7 separate regions of the Homo sapiens genome follow, and all the other regions are linked to region 5. The links are contacts of gene promoters, found by promoter capture Hi-C in blood cells and fetal thymus (Javierre and others, 2016). All regions are on one chromosome and are shown on one strand. The core of a region is centred on a gene start or on the middle of the fragment in contact, and the rest is flanking DNA. Distances in the headings are between cores, read along the strand shown.

Region 1 (2,800 bases), core at 259-2,758, 1.3 Mb before region 5:
AGTGTGTATACTGCTCTGGCCATCCACTAGCCCAGGGAGGACCCAGACCTCCACACTCCATGGAGACTCAGTTCTCCTAGGACCATTTATTCAAAAGGACTGCCCTCTCTTGTTCTTGGAAACTTTGTTGAGGATCAATTCACCATAAATATGTGTGTTTCCTTCTTTGCTTTCATCCCTGTTGCACTGATCACTGTACCTGTTTCTATTCCAGTTCCATGATGTCTTCCTGGCTGTAGCTTTGTAGGATATTTGGGGATTCCATAGTGTGATATCCCCTTCTTCCCTTTGCTCAAGATTGTTTTGGCTATTTGGGGTCCTTTTGTAGTCCCATTCAAATTTTAGGATTGTTTTTCTATTTCTGTGGAAAACGACCTTGGAATTTTGTTAGGAATTGCATTGAGTCTGCAGGTATGAACTTTTTTTTAAAGTTCCAGGGCACATGTACAGGACCTGCAGCTTTGTTACATAGGTAGGCTTGTGCCATGGTGGTTTGCTGCACCTATCAACCCATTACCTAGTTATTAAGCCCAGCATGCATTAGCTCTTTTTCCTGATGCTCTCCCTCCCTTCATCATCCGCCCTCCCACTACAAGCCCCAGTGTGTGTTGTTCCCCTCCCTGTGTCCATGTGTTCTCATTGTTATACGAACATTTTAACAATGTTAATTCTTGCAGACCATGAACATAAGCTACCTTCCCATTTATATGCGTCTTGTTCAATTTCATTCATCAATGTTATAAAGATTTTAGTGCAGAGATATTAAACCTCCTTGGTTAAATTTAATTCTAAGTAATTTTTTAGCTATTATAAGTGTAATTTTTCTTTCGATTTCTTTCTGGATAGTTTGTTTTTAGTATATAGAGATGCTACCAATTTCTGCATGTTGATTTTGTATCCTGCAACTCTACTAAATTCGTGGATCAGTTCTAAAAGTTGTTTGGTTGAGTCTTTAGAGATTTTTATATATAAAATCATGTCAGCAAACAGAGACAATATCACTTTTTATCTGATTTGGGTGCTTTTGTGTATTTTTATTGCCTAATTGCTGTGTCTAGGACTTCTATTACTATGCTGAATAGAAGAAGTGAGAGCATATACTTTTGAGCAAGGATTCTTCCATCCTCCTCCTACAGAAAGGGCAGGTTCTAATTGCACTCTGGCTGAACTATTAGCACTTCTCATGCACTTGTGTGCTCAGCCCTCAGTCAGCCTCATTGGAAAGGGTCCAACTGAGGAAGGCACCAGATGTATTTGCTGCTAAGTCCTGGCCACAGACAGTGGATGACAGATGATTATTTAAATAAAGATTAGCTTTCCTTTCAAAGTTGGAGTGCTAACCCACCCAATGTCCCTAAGGCTTCAGGGCAGGACCATGGAAAGAGGAGGAGGAAGGTTCTGAGAACTAGACAAGGGGCACTGAGGAGGCAGAAATGAATCAAGTGCTGTATCCAGGGAGATGTGGAGGAGACTGTTAGAAAATAGTAACAAAAAAAGGGAAGCCCAAGCAGAGAATTGTTTGGTAGAAAGAATACCCACGACCCAGGGTCAGTGGAGGAGTTATGTTTTCTTCCCCTATTTCCCTGCATTTCTGCACTATGCACAGTGATATCGCTGTCACTTTCTCAGCCCTGCAGGCTTGTCAGAACCCAGTGACCGCCTGGAACTGGTGGTGACAGATGAGAGGACACTCAGGGATCCCAGCCCCAGGCACTGCATTCAGGAAGGGGTTCAGCTCTCAGGGGGTGTCTCCCTTCTCACAGCCCAGCCCTGGGGTATGATGTGGAAGGTGTGAGCCCCATTTAACATGGTGCTTCCTTCTGTCCTAGGATTCTACAGCAAATCCACCCTCTCAGCTCAGCCCAGCCCTGTCCTGACCTCAGGAGGTAAGGTGACACCATTATGTCCTTCACGGCTGGGATTTGACAGGTTCATTCTGACCGTGGAAGGTGAACACAAGCTATTCTGTCTCCTGGACCCCGAAAAACAGTCCGATGGACAGTTCCAAGCCCTGATCCTGGCAGACCCCATGACTTCTAGCCACAGGTGGAGGTTTACCAGTCTGGTTTAGCAGACTTTAGCACCTGAGACCAAGAGCTCCAGCAGCTCACTAGATTCTGACCATACCTGGAGGCAACCTGGTGAAAGAAGAGGCTTGGAAGGAACCAGCCCTCTGAGTCCCAGCTCCTCGCACACTCCAGGTGTGCCTAGGGAGCCCTCCCATTTGACTCCACAGGGTCCTGTCATGGCCCATGGAGAGAGGTTGACCCTCCTGTGTTGCTCTGATGTTGGCTGCAAAATATTCTCTCTGTCCAAGAAAAAGATACATCACCTTCCCCAGAGTTCTGGCCAGAAGTTCTCCCAAGATGACTTCCCCTTAGGCCCTGTGAGCATCTCCCATGGGGGCCAGTACAGATGTTCAGTGGACACAACCTCTCCTCTAGGTGGTCAGCCCCCAGTGACCCCCCTGGACATCCTGATCGCAGGTGAGAAGCCCAGCGGGTTCAGTTAGGGACCCAGGCTCTGTACAGGCCCTGCCAGGGGAGCCTAGGTGGTGATGGTTGGGATGAGGGGTGGGGGTCTCAAGGGAGGGAGAGGCAGAGAGAGAGAGAGGATGGATTGGGCGGGGACGGGGAAACTCAGAGAAAACAGAGACAGAGATACTGAGGGTCCCAGAGAGAGGCCTGGGGAAGTCTCAGCTCAGAACAAGGTGGGGCGGCTCCTCACCCATCCTTCTTCTCTCCAGGACAGATCCGTGAGACAGCCTCCCTCTTGGTGCAACCAGGCCCCACTGTGGTCT
Region 2 (2,711 bases), core at 109-2,608, 1.4 Mb before region 5:
TATTTCAGATGTATCACAAGGAGAATTTCATGGTATTTGGAGCCGATGTGGGCTCTTGAGTGGGGGCGTCAATCATCCTCCTGGACTGTGGAGCCCAGCACCAGGATCCTCTCCCGTCCCCACCCTCCTGTCTGAACTGGTCTGGAAATTCACCATGGCTGAGCCTCCCATGTCCTGGGCACCACTGACCCCCACAGCCACTGTGATGAGTGGGGTTCACGACAGCAGGCTCAGAGGTGACATTCATGTCCAAAGTCACATAAACCCTGGATGATAATCAGGAATTAAATACAAATCAGCTCACCTTCCCCAGAATCAGATTACAGACCTAACAAATTCTTCTGAAAACTCTGAACATGGACGGAGGTGCCGAGGGAAGGCCAAGGACGCAAGGGACACTGAGGGGGCGGGACCGACTCAGAGCCTCATTCCCGGGGTGGGGGTGGGTGATGTTGCAACAAAGAGAAAAGGGGAAGTACAGGAGAGGGACGGTTTGGTAGGAAGGAAACACACACTCTCAAGACAGAACAAATATGTTTTATTATAGTTAATCCCTGCATTTCCCCTTTTGAGACAGGGTCTCACTCTGTCACTGAGGCTGGAATGCTAAGGGGTGATCATAGCTCCCTGCAGCCTCCGCCTCCCAGGCCGAAGTATTCCTCCCACCTCAGCCTCCTGAGTAGCTGGGACTAGAGATGTGAGCTGCCATGCCTGGCTAATTTTTTGCTTTTTTTATACAGACAAGGTCTTGCTATGTGGCCCAGGGTAATCTGAAGCTCCTGGCCTCTAGCCTTCACCCACCTCAGCCTCCTGAAGTGCTGGGATTCCAGGCATGAGCCACCATGGTAGACCCTGCATTACTCCTCTGTGCTCACTGCCACACGCAGCTCAACCTGAGCTACACAGCCAGGTGTCAGGTGCGTCTCTGCTGATCTGAGTCTAACTGCAGCATGGACCTGGGTTTTCCCTGAAGCATCTCCAGGGCTGGAGGGACGACCGCCATGGTAAGGACCCCGCAACGCTGAGCTGATGGACGGGCTGAAGGAGGGAGGGAGACCCCATGGGGAAGCTCTGAGAAGGAAGAGGAAGCCTCTGCTCACCCTCATCTGGAAGGGCAGACGCAGGAGGGCACCAGTTCTATTTGCTGCTACATCCCAGGTCTCAAGGAGATGAGGATAAACCAGACAGACAGTGGCTGGGGGGCAGGAAAGACCCCATTACAGTCTGAAATGTCTGCAGAGGGCCTGGTGCCTGCCCCCACCTCAGCCCTAAAGGTATGACAGCCAGGCTCCTGAGAGGGCAGTTGCACTTCCTGTGTGGTTGCACATAACAAAACCCCATGACAAGAAGGATCCAGCCTCCGAGTGTCCACACCCTGTGCGTCTCTCTGTCCTGCCAGCACTGAGGGCTCATCCATCCGCAGAGCAGGGCAGTGGGAGGAGACGCCATGACCCCCATCCTCACGGTCCTGATCTGTCTCGGTGAGATTTGAAGAGGGAGGGGAGCTTCTAACCTAGGAGGGACCTCACCCCACAGCCAAACTCTGGTCCCTAAGGAGACCCCAGGGGCTCACAAAGATCCCAGGGAGGGGAGGACCTGCCCAGGCTTCAGGGGAAAAATCCCTCACAGGGAACTCTCTTCCAGGGCTGAGTCTGGGCCCCAGGACCCACGTGCAGGCAGGTGAGTCTGTTCCCAGCTGTCCCAGGTCCCTCCTCCTCACTAGGGACAAGGGGCCACCCCCGTGCAGCTGGGGATGGGGAATAGCAGTTCTGGGCTGACTGATGGGGGTGTCTGGAGGGTCCTGCAGCTGAGAGCTGAGATCTGTTGGGTGGGAAATGACTTAGAATCCGACCTCTGATTTCCTTCCAGGGCACCTCCCCAAGCCCACCCTCTGGGCTGAGCCAGGCTCTGTGATCATCCAGGGAAGTCCTGTGACCCTCAGGTGTCAGGGGAGCCTTCAGGCTGAGGAGTACCATCTATATAGGGAAAACAAATCAGCATCCTGGGTTAGACGGATACAAGAGCCTGGGAAGAATGGCCAGTTCCCCATCCCATCCATCACCTGGGAACACGCAGGGCGGTATCACTGTCAGTACTACAGCCACAATCACTCATCAGAGTACAGTGACCCCCTGGAGCTGGTGGTGACAGGTGAGAGGACACTCAGGAGTCCCAGCCCCAGGCTCTGCCCTCAGGAAGGGGGTCGGCTCTCAGGGGCATCTCCGCTCTCACAGCTCAACCCTGGGGATGATGTGGGAGGTGGGAGCCCCATTTAACACAGTGCCTCCTTCTCTCCTAGGAGCCTACAGCAAACCCACCCTCTCAGCTCTGCCCAGCCCTGTGGTGACCTCAGGAGGGAACGTGACCCTCCAGTGTGTCTCACAGGTGGCATTTGACGGCTTCATTCTGTGTAAGGAAGGAGAAGATGAACACCCACAACGCCTGAACTCCCATTCCCATGCCCGTGGGTGGTCCTGGGCCATCTTCTCCGTGGGCCCCGTGAGCCCGAGTCGCAGGTGGTCGTACAGGTGCTATGCTTATGACTCGAACTCTCCCTATGTGTGGTCTCTACCCAGTGATCTCCTGGAGCTCCTGGTCCCAGGTGAGAAATTCACAGAATTGCTTGGAGTTCCCTGAGTCTCCCTGAGTCTCCAGGCAGGTGGGGAGCAGCCGCGTCTCAGGGCAGCTCCAGGTGGGATGATGTTGGGGCG
Region 3 (2,867 bases), core at 99-2,598, 1.1 Mb before region 5:
CAAATAGTATTTCGTTGTGTATACACGCATCCTTTTTTTAATCCAATCATTCATTCACAGACACTTAGATTGATTTCATATCTTTGCTATTGCAAACAGTGCTGCAATAAACATACAGGTGCAGGTATTTTTTGAGTAGATACCCAGCAGCGGGACCCCTAGATCGAATGGTGCTTCTATTTTTGGTTCTCTGCCAAATTTCCATACTGTCTTCCATAGAGGCTATACTAATTTACATACCGGCCAACAGTGTATAAGAGTTTCCTTTTCTCTGCATCCTTGCCAACACCTGTTATATGTTTCACTTTTTCTTTTTTTCTTTTTGAGATGGAGTCTTCCACTGTCACCCAGGCTGGAGTGCAGTGCCGCCATCTCCACGCGCTGCAACCTCCACCAACCAGGTTCAAATGATTCTCCTGCCTCAGCCTCCTGAGTAGCTGGGATTACAGAACCACACCACCATGCCCAGCTAATCTTTTGTATATTTAGTAGAGATGGGGTTTCACTATGTTGGTCAGGCTGGTCTCAAACTCCTGACCTCATGATCCACCCGCCTCAGCTTCCCAAAGTGCTGGGATTACAAGCGTGAGCCACCACTCCCCACCAGCATTTTTAGTAATAGCCATTCTGACTACTGTAAGATGATATCTCATTGTGGTTTCAATTTGCATTTCTCTGATGATTAGTGATGTTCATACGCTGTTTGGCCATTCGTATGTCTTCTTTTGAAAAATGTCTATGTATATCCCTTTGCCCACTTTTTAATGCTATTATTTGAGGGGTTATGTTTAGTTGTTTGAGTTGCCTAGAAATTCTGGATGTTAGTCCTCTGTTGGGTGCATAGTTTGCAAACATTTCCATTCATTCTGTGGGTTGTCTGTTCACCCTGCTACTATTTCCTTTGCTTGGCAGAAGCTCTTTCGTTTATTAAGTCCCATTGGTCTAGTTTTATTTTTATTGCCTGTGCTTTTGAGGTCTTAGTGATGAATTCTTTGCCCAGACCAATGCCCAGAAGAGTTTCTCTTTGGGTTTCCACCGGTGATTTTATAGTTCTGGATTTACATTTAAGCTGCTAATTACCTTAAGTTAATTTATGTGTATGATTACAGATACAGGTCCAGTTTTATTCTTCTGCATATGGCTATTTAGTTTTCCCAGCACCTTTTATTGAAAAGGAAATCTTTCTCCAGTGTATGTTTTGTTAACGTCGTCAATGATTATTCACTGTAGATATGAGGCTGTATTTCTGGGCTCTCTATTCTGGTCTATTGATCTCTGTTTCTGTGTCTATACCAGCACTGTGCTATTTAAGTTACTATAGCCTTAGAGCATAGTTTGAAGTCAGATAGCGTGATGCCTCCAGGTTTCTACATTCACCTAGAATTGCTTTCTCTATTAGGATCTTTTTTGGTTCTGTATGAATTTTAGGATTGCTTTTTCTAATTCTGTGAAAACTGGTGTTACTATTTTCATATAAGAATTGCACTGAATCTGTAGATTGCTTTAGGCAGTATGGTCATTTTAACAATATTAATTCTTATGATCCATGAGCGTGGGATTTTTTTTCTTTTTTTTTTTTTGTATTATCTATAATTGCTTTCATTGGTGTCTTACACCTTTCCTGGTACAGATCTTTCACCACCTTGGTTAAATGTATTCCTGAGTGTTTTAATTTTGCGTATCTATTGTAAACGGCATTGCCTTCTTGATTTGGTTCTCAGCTAGATCATTATAGGTGTAGAGAAATGCTACCGGCTTTTACATATTGATTTTGTATTCTGAAACTTTACTTAGTTCATTTATCAATCATAAGAATTTTTGGCAGGGTCTTTAGGATTTTCTAGATTTAAGATCATAGCATCAGAAATAAAAATAATTTTACTTCCTCTTTTCTAATTTGGATTTTTAATTCTTCCTGTTGCCCAATAGCTCTGACAAGGCTTCCAGTACTATGTTGATAGGAAGTGGTGGATGTCCGTGTCCTTGTCTTGTGCCAGTTCTCAGAGGAGTGCTTTTAACTTTTCCTGTTCAGTATGATGTTGACTCTAGATATGTCATCTATGGCTTTTATTATTTTGAGGTATGTTCTTTCTATGCCTAAGTTTTTGAGGGTTTTCATCAGGTAAGGATGTTGAATTTCTTTTCAGATGCTTTTCTTTATGTCTATTGAGATGATCATATGGTTTTTGTTCTGGATTCTGCTCGTTCTTCTAAGTGGATGAGACATGCCAGAAAAGCATTTAGTCAGCCATCTTGGAAACAAGCATCTCAGATGTTTTCTTTCTCTATAGCTCATTCTTTCTTACCAGTGTTTTCAATTTTGTACTTAATTTTGTAAAGAGAGTAAATGATATAATTTCCACATATGTTTCCTCTGCCAAATCAGACTCACTATGCTTCCTTTCCTTGTATACATAACCTACCCAGCAATACACACAAACATTTATTGCTTTGGAGAATTAGTTTGGGAACATTTTTGAAATGTACAAAAAAATGTATATCTTCAAAAGAAATTTCTTTTTGTGGCAAAAGACTTCTGAAGGTGCTCATGATGATATAGGGAGAAGAGGGGTTCTGGACAGGAAGAATTTTATGAAGGTGAGATGGGGAAATAGCTCCATTTCAGAGCTTCTGGGGAGAGAGGGGCCTGGCCCACATGGAAAGGTCTCTGATCTTACCCCCACCCTCCAGCCCCTGTTCTCCAGAACTATACTGTGGAGAGTTCCATCAGGATTGTTGTGGCTGGTCTGGTCTTCCTGGCTCTTTTGGCAATGCTGGCTAAGACCTGGTGGAGACATGAGGGGCCACAGGTGGAAATGGAAGAAACATGACTGAAGCTGGCTGGAGTGAATGGCGCGACATTCTGT
Region 4 (2,719 bases), core at 157-2,656, 2.0 Mb before region 5:
TTCCTGGAGTAAAGGCATAGTATGGGGTGGGGAGTGAGTGGCTTGTGGGGAGACAGTGGGGGCTGTGACAGGGAATGGGCTGGAGATGGCGGGGGGGGGGCAGCTTGCAAACCAGTGGGTCTGATGTTGGGTGCATTAGAATTCCCCAGGGAGCTTTTAAAAACTTACATGCGCAGGCCACACTGCAGACCAACCATGTCGGACTTTCTCAGGTGGGACTCAAACATCCGAATTTTTAAGGTCCTCGGGTGATTTCCAGGTGTGTTGGAGGCTGCCCGAGGCAGGAAGGGGGCTTCCAGGGAGAGGAGGCTGACTGAGGGTGGCTGGTGATTCCGAGTTGCACAAACTGTGAGGGTCAGCTGGGATTTTCTTTTTCTTTTTCTTCTTCTTTTAATTTTTCCTTTTTAGTTGAAGAGAGGTTGAGAGATTTATTTTTTCCTAAGGAGAGGAAACTGTGGGGGACCATTTGGAGTGATGGAATGACAAAAGCCAGACCGGAGGGGGCTCGCGGAGGTTACTCCCACGGAAGTGGTGCTACTCGGGCTTCTTAAGTTGTGGAGACGCTCAGGGAAAAGTTGGGCTGACAGGGAAGGGTTCTAGCGGGTGGAGAGGTGGGGCTTGCAGGGGAAGAGTGGGGAGAGCTGGTGGGCGCCGCATGGTGATGGGGCGGGGGTCGCTAAGGAAGGAAGAACGCGACGGGGGCTCCTGGGGAGGAGGCGGCGGCGTGGGGCTTGGCATCATGGCGGGGGGTGGCTTCCCATGCGATGAGGATCGTGGAGCCCCCTGGGGCGGAGGCGGCGCGGGCTAGGGGCGAGGGCTGTGAGTGTGAGCGGTGGTGGGGACTCCTCCGAGTGGGGTTAGTGGGATGGTGGGACGACTTTCTTGGGCAGAAGACAGGAGTGGAGAGAGATTTCATCTTATTTATTAATTATTAGCGGTGGTGGGGACTCCTCCGAGTGGGGTTAGTGGGATGGTGGGACGACTTTCTTGGGCAGAAGACAGGAGTGGAGAGAGATTTCATCTTATTTATTAATTATTAGCGGTGGTGGGGACTCCTCCGAGTGGGGTTAGTGGGATGGTGGGACGACTTTCTTGGGCAGAAGACAGGAGTGGAGAGAGATTTCATCTTATTTATTAATTATTAGCGGTGGTGGGGACTCCTCCGAGTGGGGTTAGTGGGATGGTGGGATGACTTTCTTGGGCAGAAGACAAGAGTGGAGAGAGATTTCATCTTATTTATTAATTATTATTATTATTATTATTATTATTATTATTTTTGAGAAAGAGAAGCAGTGGAGCCCCGAGTGGAAGGAGTTTCTGGAGCTGAGGCAGGGATTTTGGGGGGGGGGGGGCGGGGACTGGGGGAGGTACCTGTGCCTTCTTCTCCTCTAATGCGAGATCTCGCTCCTTGCCCTCCACCAGCCGCCGACCATGGCCGCGCTCTGACCCCCTCCCCGGCCGCAGCCTCCTCCTCGCCGCCCCCCTCCCCAGCCCCGCCGGCCCCGGGCCCCCCGCTTCTGCCTGCGCTGTGAACCCCCCCCCAGCCGCCGGCACGGCCCCGCCCCCGCTGCCCCGGTGGTGGCCCACGGCCCCCCGGCTGCCCGTGGTCAAACTGGAGTCGCTGAAGCGCTGGAACGAAGAGCGGGGCCTCTGGTGCGAGAAGGGGGTGCAGGTGCTGCTGACGACGGTGGGCGCCTTCGCCGCCTTCGGCCTCATGACCATCGCCATCAGCACTGACTACTGGCTCTACACGCGCGCCCTCATCTGCAACACCACCAACCTCACGGCCGGCGGCGACGACGGGACCCCCCACCGCGGGGGCGGCGGCGCCTCGGAGAAGAAGGACCCCGGCGGCCTCACGCACTCGGGCCTCTGGAGGATCTGCTGCCTGGAAGGTAGGGTGCGGGCGGCCCTCCCCGCAGCCCCCGCCGCTCCCCTCCGAGAGACCCTGAGCCTCCCGGGGCTGCCTGTCCCTGATCCTGGGGCCCCCTTGGGCACCCCTCCTCCTCTGCCAGAGGGGCTTCTGCGCCTTCCCACTCGCGCCCCTGACCTCCTCTCCCCTCCTTCCCACTCCTCCCTGCGTCCTGGCACCCTGCGGAATTCCTCGGCATGCTCCCTCTGCAGCCCCTCTGCCTCTCCGCTGAACCCCCTTATCCTATCTTTCCCTAGTCCGTGTCTCCTGCGCTGCCCCATCACACCCCTGCATCTTCCCTCTCTCCAGTACCTGGGGCTCCTCCTGTTTCATTTCTTCCACTCTGCCCTGTGCCTTTTCTCTTTTTTTTTTTTTTTTTGACAAGGTCTCACTCTGTCGCCCAGGCTGGAGTACGGTGGCACAATCACAGCTCACTGCAGCCTCGAATCCCTAGGCTCAAGCCATCCTCCCACCTCTGCCTCCTGAGTAGCTGGGACCACAGGCATGAGCCACTGTGCCCAGCTAATTTTTTTTATTATTTGTAGAGATGAGGTCTCCTGTTGCCCAGGCTGGTCTCGAGCTCCTGAGCTCAAGAGATCCTCCTGCCTTGGCCTCCAAAGTGCTGGGATGAAGGGCATGAGCCACTGCACCCAGCAGCCTCTTTCTCCCTCTTTCCCGTCAGTTCATCTTGACCCTGCTCCTCCGCTCCACCTGCCCCTTCATTTCCTCTCCCTCGTGCCCCGTGACATCTTCTCTCTCCCGACATTTCCCCCCCAGTCCTCTGAAGTCCCCTGCCTCTCCCGCCCC
Region 5 (2,708 bases), core at 139-2,638:
TTACAAAACACTTTATTACCACAATAAACACTGCACGATCCTACAACACCACAATCAGCCCTGTAACACCTCAGCAGGTCTTGCAATGCCACAGAAGATGTGGCATGAAACTTTACCCTGAGTAAAACATGAACTTTGCTTGTGAATATGGGAAGTGTCGCAGCTTGTGAGTTTTTGTGAAGTGAAAGAACAATGATCTGAAATCAGACAGAAAGTGTAGAATGGGCAAGGCTCGTACTGAGGAAGCGGGTAGATGTTTGAGGTACATGCCTGTGTGCATTGTGTACAATCCTACATGGCTCTGCTCGGCTGAGTGCAGGGTCGGTGGGTTGCGGGGGCAGGGCGGGGGTTGTTGTGGTTTCTTAGTGTTTCTCTTGGGCAAAACCATGCATAAGCTAACATGAAATCTGTGCTGCACTCAAATTGTTCCCAGTACGACAATCACACTGGGACAAATTTGCATGTTTAAAAGAAGCCTGGGCTGGGCGCGGTGGCTCACGCCTGTAATCCCAGTGCTTTGGGAGGTCGAGGCGAGCAGATCACGAGGTCAGGAGATTGAGACCATCCTGGCTAACACAGTGAAACCCCGTCTCTACTAAAAATACAAAAAAATTAGCCGGGTGTGGTGGCGGGCGCCTGTAGTCCCAGCTACTTGGGAGGCTGAGGCAGGAGAATCGCTTCAACCTGGGAGGCAGAGGTTACAGTGACCTCAGATCGCACCACTGCACTCCAGCCTGGGCGACAGAGTGGAGACTCAGGCTCAAAAAAAAAAAAAAAAGAAAGAAAGAAAGAAAGAAAAAGGCTTATAACATAACTGAATGTGCCTCTTCCGATTCCCTTTCTTGCCTTTGCTACTCCTTCCCAGGCTAGAGCACTAAATCTTTATAGCCTTTATGCCTTTAAACATCATACTGTCATAGATTATCAAGGAGGATTTGTAGGGGGAGATCGGCAGTGTGGAATGACCCCACAAAAACCCAGCGGCTACCTCCTTGCCTCAGGAGTACCAAGCAGCCCTCCCGCCTTCCTTCTTGAGGACTCTCACCTTTCATCTCGGCTCTAACTTTCTCACACAGTGAGGTCAGATTCATTGTCTGGAAGATGCCGAGGACCACTTTCCATGCCTGACCTTTTGGGAAGTGTTCATCCAAAAGAAAGGACAGATTCAAAGGGTCGGCAGCTCTCAAGTTTGCCCAGGGGATACGCGGGAAGTGCCCCTGGGGGGCCGACCAGAAGTCCATCAGCTGCTGGGGTTCCAAGCAAAGCTTGAATTCCTCCAGCTGATACTGATCCAGGGCCATCAGGTAAGGCAGAAGCCCTTGGTTGGTACCACCGTTGGGGCAGGTGATTACAGAAAAGTTCATCTTGCCCAACACATGCAGTTTCTCACTTCAGCAAAGGACTCCTATATCCACAGGACACTTGTGACCTGCAGAAAAGGAGAGAGTTGAAATCATAAGCCATAAATATCACCTCCTCTCACTGTCTTGCCTACACATTTGAGTATTTTCGCTTCACAGTACTTCCTGCTACTTGTGTTAGTACACTTTTTTGTTGTTGTTTTGTTTTTTGAGATGGAGTCTCGCTCTGTCCCCCAAGCTGAAGTGCAATGGTGCGATCTCGGCTCACTGCAAGCTCCGCCTCCCGGGTTCACGCCATTCTCCTGCCTCAGCCTCTTGAGTAGCTGGGACTACAGGTGCCCGCCACCACGCCCAGCTAGTTTTTTTTGTATTTTTAGTACAGATGGGGTTTCACCGTGTTAGCCAGGATGGTCTCGATCTCCTGACCTTGTGATCCGCCCGCCTCGGCCTCCCAAAGTGTTGGGATTACAGGCGTGAGCCACCGGGCCCGGCCTCAACTGGGTATTTTCTCTAGCAACCTTACCTAGACTCGAGATCACTGGCTTTCATCCCATCCCAGAAGGAACAATGCCATCAGCACCTGATTTATCTGCCTTACTAACAGTGACAGCTGTCCTAGAAAAGTTACAGGTGCATGATGGTACTTACCAACTCACATTCAGAGGGTTCACCTGAAATGTGAATAAGAAGAACATTGAAGTTAATTAGTCACAGTAAAGATCAAAGACATTTGAGAGATGGGAACGGGGGAAACTAATCAGGGAGAAGGGGTAACAAAGAGAGAAAATAGAAGTTTCCGCCCATCACGATTTTGGCCACCAGGCAGCTAATGGTGATTGAGACAGATCTGCCACTATTCCCCCATAGAACCTGGTCCGGCATGTATGCTGGGTCATGTCAAAATACCAGGTAGTATTGAAGGCAACAGATAGACAGCAGAACAAAAGACTTTTTTTTTTGTGATGGAGTTTCGCTCTCGTTGCCCAGGCTGGAGTGCAATGGCTGGATCTCGGCTCACTGGAGTCTTTGCCTCCCAGGTTCAAGTGATTCTCTTGCCTCAGCGTCCGAGTAGCTGGGACTACAGGTGCATACTGGCCTTGGCCTCCCAAAATGCTGGGATTACAGGCATGAGCCACCATGCCTGGCCCAAAACACTATGCTTGAAGCTACTGGTGTGTGACCCCCGAATGTCTCCCAAAGAGAAATCTCCAGAAGAGATGTATGTTAGGACCTACCCTGGCAGCCCAAATTCATTGGACTACTCCAGAAATTGTTGGAGAAAAGATGGGGAAAGACACACAGAGGAAAACTTGAAACATCATGAAGAAAAGCCCTTTCAGGTATAAG
Region 6 (2,700 bases), core at 173-2,672, 1.2 Mb before region 5:
TCCTTAAAAATTCTGTTCCTTTGGAATCATCCCTGGAACCAAAATGATTTTTTTTTCAAGGGTTCTCCAGAGAAATTGAACCAGCAGAATGTTTATTTATGTGTCTATCTGTGTATCTATGTATCTATCTATGTATCTATCCATGTATCTATGTATCTATCTATTTATCTATCTATCTATTTATTTGTTTATCTATTCATTTACCTAGGAATTGGCTCATGTGATTGTAGGAGCTTGGTGAGTCCAAAATCTGCAGGACAGTAGAGTATCCTGGAGACTCAGGAAAGAGTTGTAGCAAACTAAAAAATCCAAAGACAATCTGCTGGAAGAATTTCTTCTTGCTCAGGGGAGCTCTCTGCTATTACTTTATTGTTATTTTGCTCACAAGACATGTATCATCCTATAACATATTGGATTTTCTATTAATTTTTGTTGTTGTCTAATATCCATCTTTCTCAACTATAATATTGATTCAATACAGACACTTTTTTAGAAGTCTTTCTGTCTTTTTTCTGATACATCTTATACACCAAGAATCACGTTTGACCCATTAGATACTTAATGTGTGCCCATGAAAACAGTGAATAAAAGTGTCTCCACTTCTTCCAAGTTTATTTTTAACACTGGAGCAAATGATTTCTACTTGATTCTCTCTTTTTTTCTCCCTTCCAGGCTGCCTTTAGTGCAAAGTCCTCAGAATGGAAAAATATTCTTGGGGGAGGCAAAACCTTAAGGTTGGCAAGAAACAAACCCCAGCCTTATCCTTACTTTCCTTCTCTCAGTTAGATCTCAATGTCCTTGGCTGCAATGCCGTCTCTACCTAGTCTACTTCAAGCTTCCCAGATATGATTTCCTCTCTAAGTTTCTCTGTCTCTTCCTGTCTCTGTCTCTCTATTGTTCTGTTTCTTTCCATCTCTCTCTTTCTTGCTCCAACTTTCTCAGTCGACTAAAACTAATAGCTACGAATAGCTTTCAGTAATTTGAACATTTCACGGATGTTTTTCTAGATCAACTGAAATCCCTATGCAAACACTGTCACTGTACTTGCAGATGAAATGATAATCACTTCCCGGCAAGAAAAGGATCTCATGGTAGTCTTAAGCCTTTATCTCAGGGTTAAGATGCCCCCTTTTGTGGAGGTGCTTAGACTGTGACTATGGCAGTTGCTTTCCCAGCAAGAAACTGCATTTGGTAAGTGGACCTTCTTTCAGTTAGAGAGCCATATTCTTAGAGATGTAGAATATTTGTTGCAACATATATGTGTGTGTGTATATATATATATATATATATATATATATATATATATATATGGTGTAAACATCCCGGTCTATTTCCCCTAAGGTCAAAACTGAACATGGAAAAGAAACATGGGGCAGGGGTATTTTCTGAGAGTTCCTGAGACACAGAACCACCCCAGCCTTCCCACTCAGGGCTGCCTGGCATCTCCTGTTTACCTTCTCTGTCATAGCCCCATCTGAAAGACTCTGTCTGAATAAATATACCAAACCTCATAGTCTTAGCTCTCCTCTTTGTACGAGGGGTAAGAGTGTGTTCAGGTCTTGGCTCCTGTTCACACACCTGTTGTCTAATGGCAACTGGTACTTAGGACATTTGAAATATCTCTGGTGGCTGCATGCTGCACTTTGGTTGGCAATGGCTGTACGTCTCTGAAAACCTTCTGTGATGATTGCAAAACGGTACACTTTCATCTCCTTTCTTATGGGTTCCGGGGAGCCGAATGCACTTGATTTCACCAGTAATATATGTCTATAGACAATTTCTCAGATCGGCGTGAAGAAGGTAAATTATATCTTTCATTTAGAAAAATATAAATCTCACTTTTACAAAACGTGACTAAGAATTGTCAAGGCTTAGAGAGCAGGAATAATCAGGGACTATATGGGTGTTCATGTCTAATAAATGCAACTCTGATCCTTAACCGTATTTAAAAGCGCTTTCAGAGTTCCGAAACCTTTTCATCTGCTCCAGATTCACTGGGTTCTGAAGCCAAAGCTTTCTGAAACTGTTCCTCCTCTCAGCCCCTAAGTGGTGAACGCTTGGTCTGTTCTGACAGCTGAGATCCTAGCCACGGGAGCGTGAGGTGAGGAATTTCCTGTCACCATCCCAGAAAGTAAAATATAGCCTCATTATTTCCTAATTGTGTTTCCATAAGAAAAACAAAGAATTCGATAAAAGAAACAAAGACCAGTATTTACTTTTTCATAAATGATTGTAGTTACTGAAGGACATATGGGGCCCGTAATCACAACGGGTCTAGGACTCACAGGTATTTTCTCGTCTCCATTATTTACCATAATTGTGTCATTCTCACTCCTGCTTACATGATTTATTTGGTATAATTTAAATGTATTTGTATGTTTTCTCTATGACTTAATGGGCAACATGCCCCTTTCTCTAACTTGTGTTTGTTGGTTTGTTGATCTCTGATACAAATTTGCTAAATATATTCTAGTTGTTGTTATAAAATATTTTCTTTCCAAGAAAATTTTTCAACAGGTTCATGTGCACACCATATATGAAATTCATATTCTTTTCTTATTCTCTTATTTTTCTCCCCATCCTCTACAACACTTGGGCCAAACTGTTATGGATTATTGTGTATCCACCAAGAAATGGCTTTGAGTTTTTAAAGTATCTATTTCTCTGAACTAATCTGTAATTTCCAAGAATCTAATATTT
Region 7 (2,919 bases), core at 307-2,806, 1.1 Mb before region 5:
TCCACCTCCATGACTCAAACACCTTCCCATAGGCCCAAACTTCCACACTGGGGGTTAAATTTCAATATTTCAGTGTGAGGTTTCAAAGGGTCAAACATCTAAACTAAAGCAGCTGTATCCTCAGCATGTTCTATGGTTTCTATGAGAGCTGTAACTGAGAAAGCAGGAGAAAGCTGGGTCTCCCGCCATCAGGCTGCTTGTCCTAAGGAGATGTTCCATGTGGTTACCTGTCAATCAAGAAATGAGACAATCCATAAAGAGGAACTGCTATGATTAGCTTCTTATTGGATTCCCATCTTCCTCCAGGTATCTGCAGACACCTGCATGTTCTGATTGGGACCTCAGTGGTCATCTTCCTCTTCATCCTCCTCCTCTTCTTTCTCCTTTATCGCTGGTGCTCCAACAAAAAGAGTAAGTCTCACGAAGCAGAGGCCAGAGAGCTCAGGGCCATGTGGGGAAGCAGGATGGGAGCACGCGGGTGTGTGTTCCTCACTGGCAGGATGGTCCCTGGCCCAAGGGAGGAGCCACAGAGGCAGGGCTTTCTAGAGAGAGCACCAGACAACCTGCCCCTGCCTTCAGCTCACAGACCATTGCCTGGTTCTGAACTGTATCCTCACATCCCCTGCAGCTACTGACATCCAGAAGCTTCCATGACAGGCAGAAAGTGGGAGACAGAATCAATGGGATGCCAATTGAGAGCACTTCATGGGATGGGGTCTTGAACTCAGAGAGATAGAATGTCTGAGTCTGGATGTTGGCAGCTGAAGAGCCTCAGGCACCTACAGCCTCCCCCTGTGGGTTGGTGTCTGCCCATGAAATGAGGACCCAGAAGGGCCCTCCAAGCGGTTTTGATGACTTCCGTCTCCTACAGATGCTGCTGTAATGGACCAAGAGCCTGCGGGGGACAGAACAGTGAATAGGCAGGTAGGTCCTCCTCGGCCCAGCCTCACGGATACAGTCTTATCCCTAATAGTCCTGAAAAATGTGAGCACCCTCCCTCACTCAGCATTTCCCTCTCTCCAGGACTCTGATGAACAAGACCCTCAGGAGGTGACGTACGCACAGTTGGATCACTGCGTTTTCATACAGAGAAAAATCAGTCGCCCTTCTCAGAGGCCCAAGACACCCCTAACAGATACCAGCGTGTACACGGAACTTCCAAATGCTGAGCCCAGATCCAAAGTTGTCTCCTGCCCACGAGCACCACAGTCAGGTCTTGAGGGGGTTTTCTAGGGAGACAACAGCCCTGTCTCAAAACCAGGTTGCCAGATCCAATGAACCAGCAGCTGGAATCTGAAGGCATCAGTCTGCATCTTAGGGGATCGCTCTTCCTCACACCACGAATCTGAACATGCCTCTCTCTTGCTTACAAATGCCTAAGGTCGCCACTGCCTGCTGCAGAGAAAACACACTCCTTTGCTTAGCCCACAAGTATCTATTTCACTTGACCCCTGCCCACCTCTCCAACCTAACTGGCTTACTTCCTAGTCCTACTTGAGGCTGCAATCACACTGAGGAACTCACAATTCCAAACATACAAGAGGCTCCCTCTTAACACGGCACTTACACACTTGCTGTTCCACCTTCCCTCATGCTGTTCCACCTCCCCTCAGACTATCTTTCAGCCTTCTGTCATCAGTAAAATTTATAAATTTTTTTTATAACTTCAGTGTAGCTCTCTCCTCTTCAAATAAACATGTCTGCCCTCATGGTTTCGATAATGTGACTCTTTATTCGCCAAAAGTTTCCAGTGTTATCATTACTATGTCCATATAACCTGATATGTTCTCTACTGGGTTCTCAGCCCTGGACTCTGAGCTTCTGGAAGCAGGGTGGAGCCTCATTTGTCTCTGGGACTCCAATTTCCATCCAAAGATGCAGCACATAGGAGGTTCCAAGGATCGTGAATCACATGAACAAGTGATATTCTTACTCTCTGCAGACCTGGAAAGCTGGCAGAGTCATTCCAAGATGAAACATTTGTAGAGTCATAGGCCTTGTTAGTCTCATCTCCACAGGGACACATGTCAACACATCATCTTTCATACTATAAATATACAGTCGCTCCTCCATATCTGTGGGGTTTACAGGTGTTTATTGAACCAAATATAAATCAAAAATATTCAGAGAAAAAATCCACAAAGTTCCAAAAAGCAAAAATACTATATTGTGTGGACACAAGTGAGGTGGTGTGTAGGCTGTATCAGGAATTATAAGTAATCTAGAGATGATTTCATGTATACAGGAGGATGTGCATGGGTTATATGCAAACGCTGTGCCATTTCATGCAACAGGCTTGAGCATCTGCAGATTTTGGTGTCTGGTAGGGAGGGGGGTTTCCTGGAACCAATCACCCATGAATAGTGAAGGACAACTGTATATAATTTTCATTCATCAATTTTATAAATAAATCATCAAAATGTATGATAATAAGATAAAAAATTAGCAGTGTTTTTATGGTGTGAAAATAAGCTTAGATTTATTTTTTCCTGCTTGTAACCCTCTGGTCCAATGTTATTTACTGAGAAGACATTCTATTCCACCTTAATCCGCATGGCAGCCTCTGTCAACTATAAAAGGACTGTGTGTACACAGATGTATTTTACACACTCTTTTCTGCTCAGTGGCTCTCTGTGTCCACTCTCATGAGGATGCTGCACTTTATGTGGCCTTATAGAACCCCTTAAAATTTGGCAGCCTGAATCCTCTAATTTCTCCTTCCTCTTTAAGATTGCCATTATTATTATTATTGGCTATTTGCTTTTCCATGTAAATTTGTAATCATTTTTCTCATTTCCACCAAAAACAATGCTTGTAATTTTGTTGTGACTCCCTTACATCTACAGGTAAGTTCTGTCCTATAGAAACATAATGCAAACCACATGCATTCTTTCAAACTTGCTAGTATCCAAATTAAAA

The links. Contacts are between HindIII fragments. The CHiCAGO score rates a contact against its expected background, and 5 or more counts as called.
Region 1: a contact is called between a fragment that was not itself captured here and the fragment with the promoter of NLRP13 in region 5, in 1 of 17 cell types (naive CD8 T cells). The highest score is 5.8, in naive CD8 T cells.
Region 2: a contact is called between the fragment with the promoter of LILRA2 here and the fragment with the promoter of NLRP13 in region 5, in 4 of 17 cell types (naive CD8 T cells, naive CD4 T cells, activated CD4 T cells and 1 more). The highest score is 11.6, in naive CD8 T cells.
Region 3: a contact is called between a fragment that was not itself captured here and the fragment with the promoter of NLRP13 in region 5, in 3 of 17 cell types (naive CD8 T cells, activated CD4 T cells and non-activated CD4 T cells). The highest score is 6.3, in naive CD8 T cells.
Region 4: a contact is called between the fragment with the promoter of CACNG8 here and the fragment with the promoter of NLRP13 in region 5, in 1 of 17 cell types (total B cells). The highest score is 7.5, in total B cells.
Region 6: a fragment that was not itself captured here is called in contact with the fragment with the promoter of NLRP13 in region 5 in 1 of 17 cell types (activated CD4 T cells); the score reaches 5.1 in activated CD4 T cells.
Region 7: a contact is called between a fragment that was not itself captured here and the fragment with the promoter of NLRP13 in region 5, in 1 of 17 cell types (activated CD4 T cells). The highest score is 7.8, in activated CD4 T cells.

The regions. Positions count from the first base shown.
Region 1 is chr19:54,669,602-54,672,401 of GRCh38, forward strand. No RefSeq gene overlaps it. Among named protein-coding and RNA genes, the nearest start is that of LILRB4, 8.0 kb to the left of the region's middle. The HindIII fragment of the contact is 3,346 bases long and covers 1-2,800 here.
Region 2 is chr19:54,572,432-54,575,142 of GRCh38, forward strand. It overlaps LILRA2 (leukocyte immunoglobulin like receptor A2), which reads left to right and starts at 1,359. Exons shown (of 8, transcript NM_001130917.3): 1 at 1,359-1,481; 2 at 1,645-1,680; 3 at 1,870-2,151; 4 at 2,300-2,602. The coding sequence starts at 1,448. It overlaps LOC107985347 (a long non-coding RNA gene), which reads right to left and starts at 397. Exons shown (of 2, transcript XR_002958419.2): 1 at 305-397. The HindIII fragment of the contact is 11,294 bases long and covers 1-2,711 here.
Region 3 is chr19:54,794,003-54,796,869 of GRCh38, forward strand. No RefSeq gene overlaps it. Among named protein-coding and RNA genes, the nearest start is that of KIR2DL4, 8.2 kb to the right of the region's middle. The HindIII fragment of the contact is 4,657 bases long and covers 1-2,867 here.
Region 4 is chr19:53,961,531-53,964,249 of GRCh38, forward strand. It overlaps CACNG8 (calcium voltage-gated channel auxiliary subunit gamma 8), which reads left to right and starts at 1,407. Exons shown (of 4, transcript NM_031895.6): 1 at 1,407-1,895. The coding sequence starts at 1,613. RefSeq lists an enhancer at 248-768. The HindIII fragment of the contact is 5,876 bases long and covers 1-2,719 here.
Region 5 is chr19:55,930,948-55,933,655 of GRCh38, forward strand. NLRP13 (NLR family pyrin domain containing 13) reads right to left here and starts at 1,389. Exons shown (of 11, transcript NM_176810.2): 1 at 1,046-1,389. The coding sequence starts at 1,364. The HindIII fragment of the contact is 1,470 bases long and covers 1,264-2,708 here.
Region 6 is chr19:54,686,791-54,689,490 of GRCh38, forward strand. No RefSeq gene overlaps it. Among named protein-coding and RNA genes, the nearest start is that of LILRB4, 25 kb to the left of the region's middle. The HindIII fragment of the contact is 1,178 bases long and covers 834-2,011 here.
Region 7 is chr19:54,865,499-54,868,417 of GRCh38, forward strand. KIR3DL2 (killer cell immunoglobulin like receptor, three Ig domains and long cytoplasmic tail 2) reads left to right here. Exons shown (of 9, transcript NM_006737.4): 7 at 307-411; 8 at 872-924; 9 at 1,024-1,709. The coding sequence ends at 1,233. Among named protein-coding and RNA genes, the nearest start is that of FCAR, 7.3 kb to the right of the region's middle. The HindIII fragment of the contact is 1,827 bases long and covers 644-2,470 here.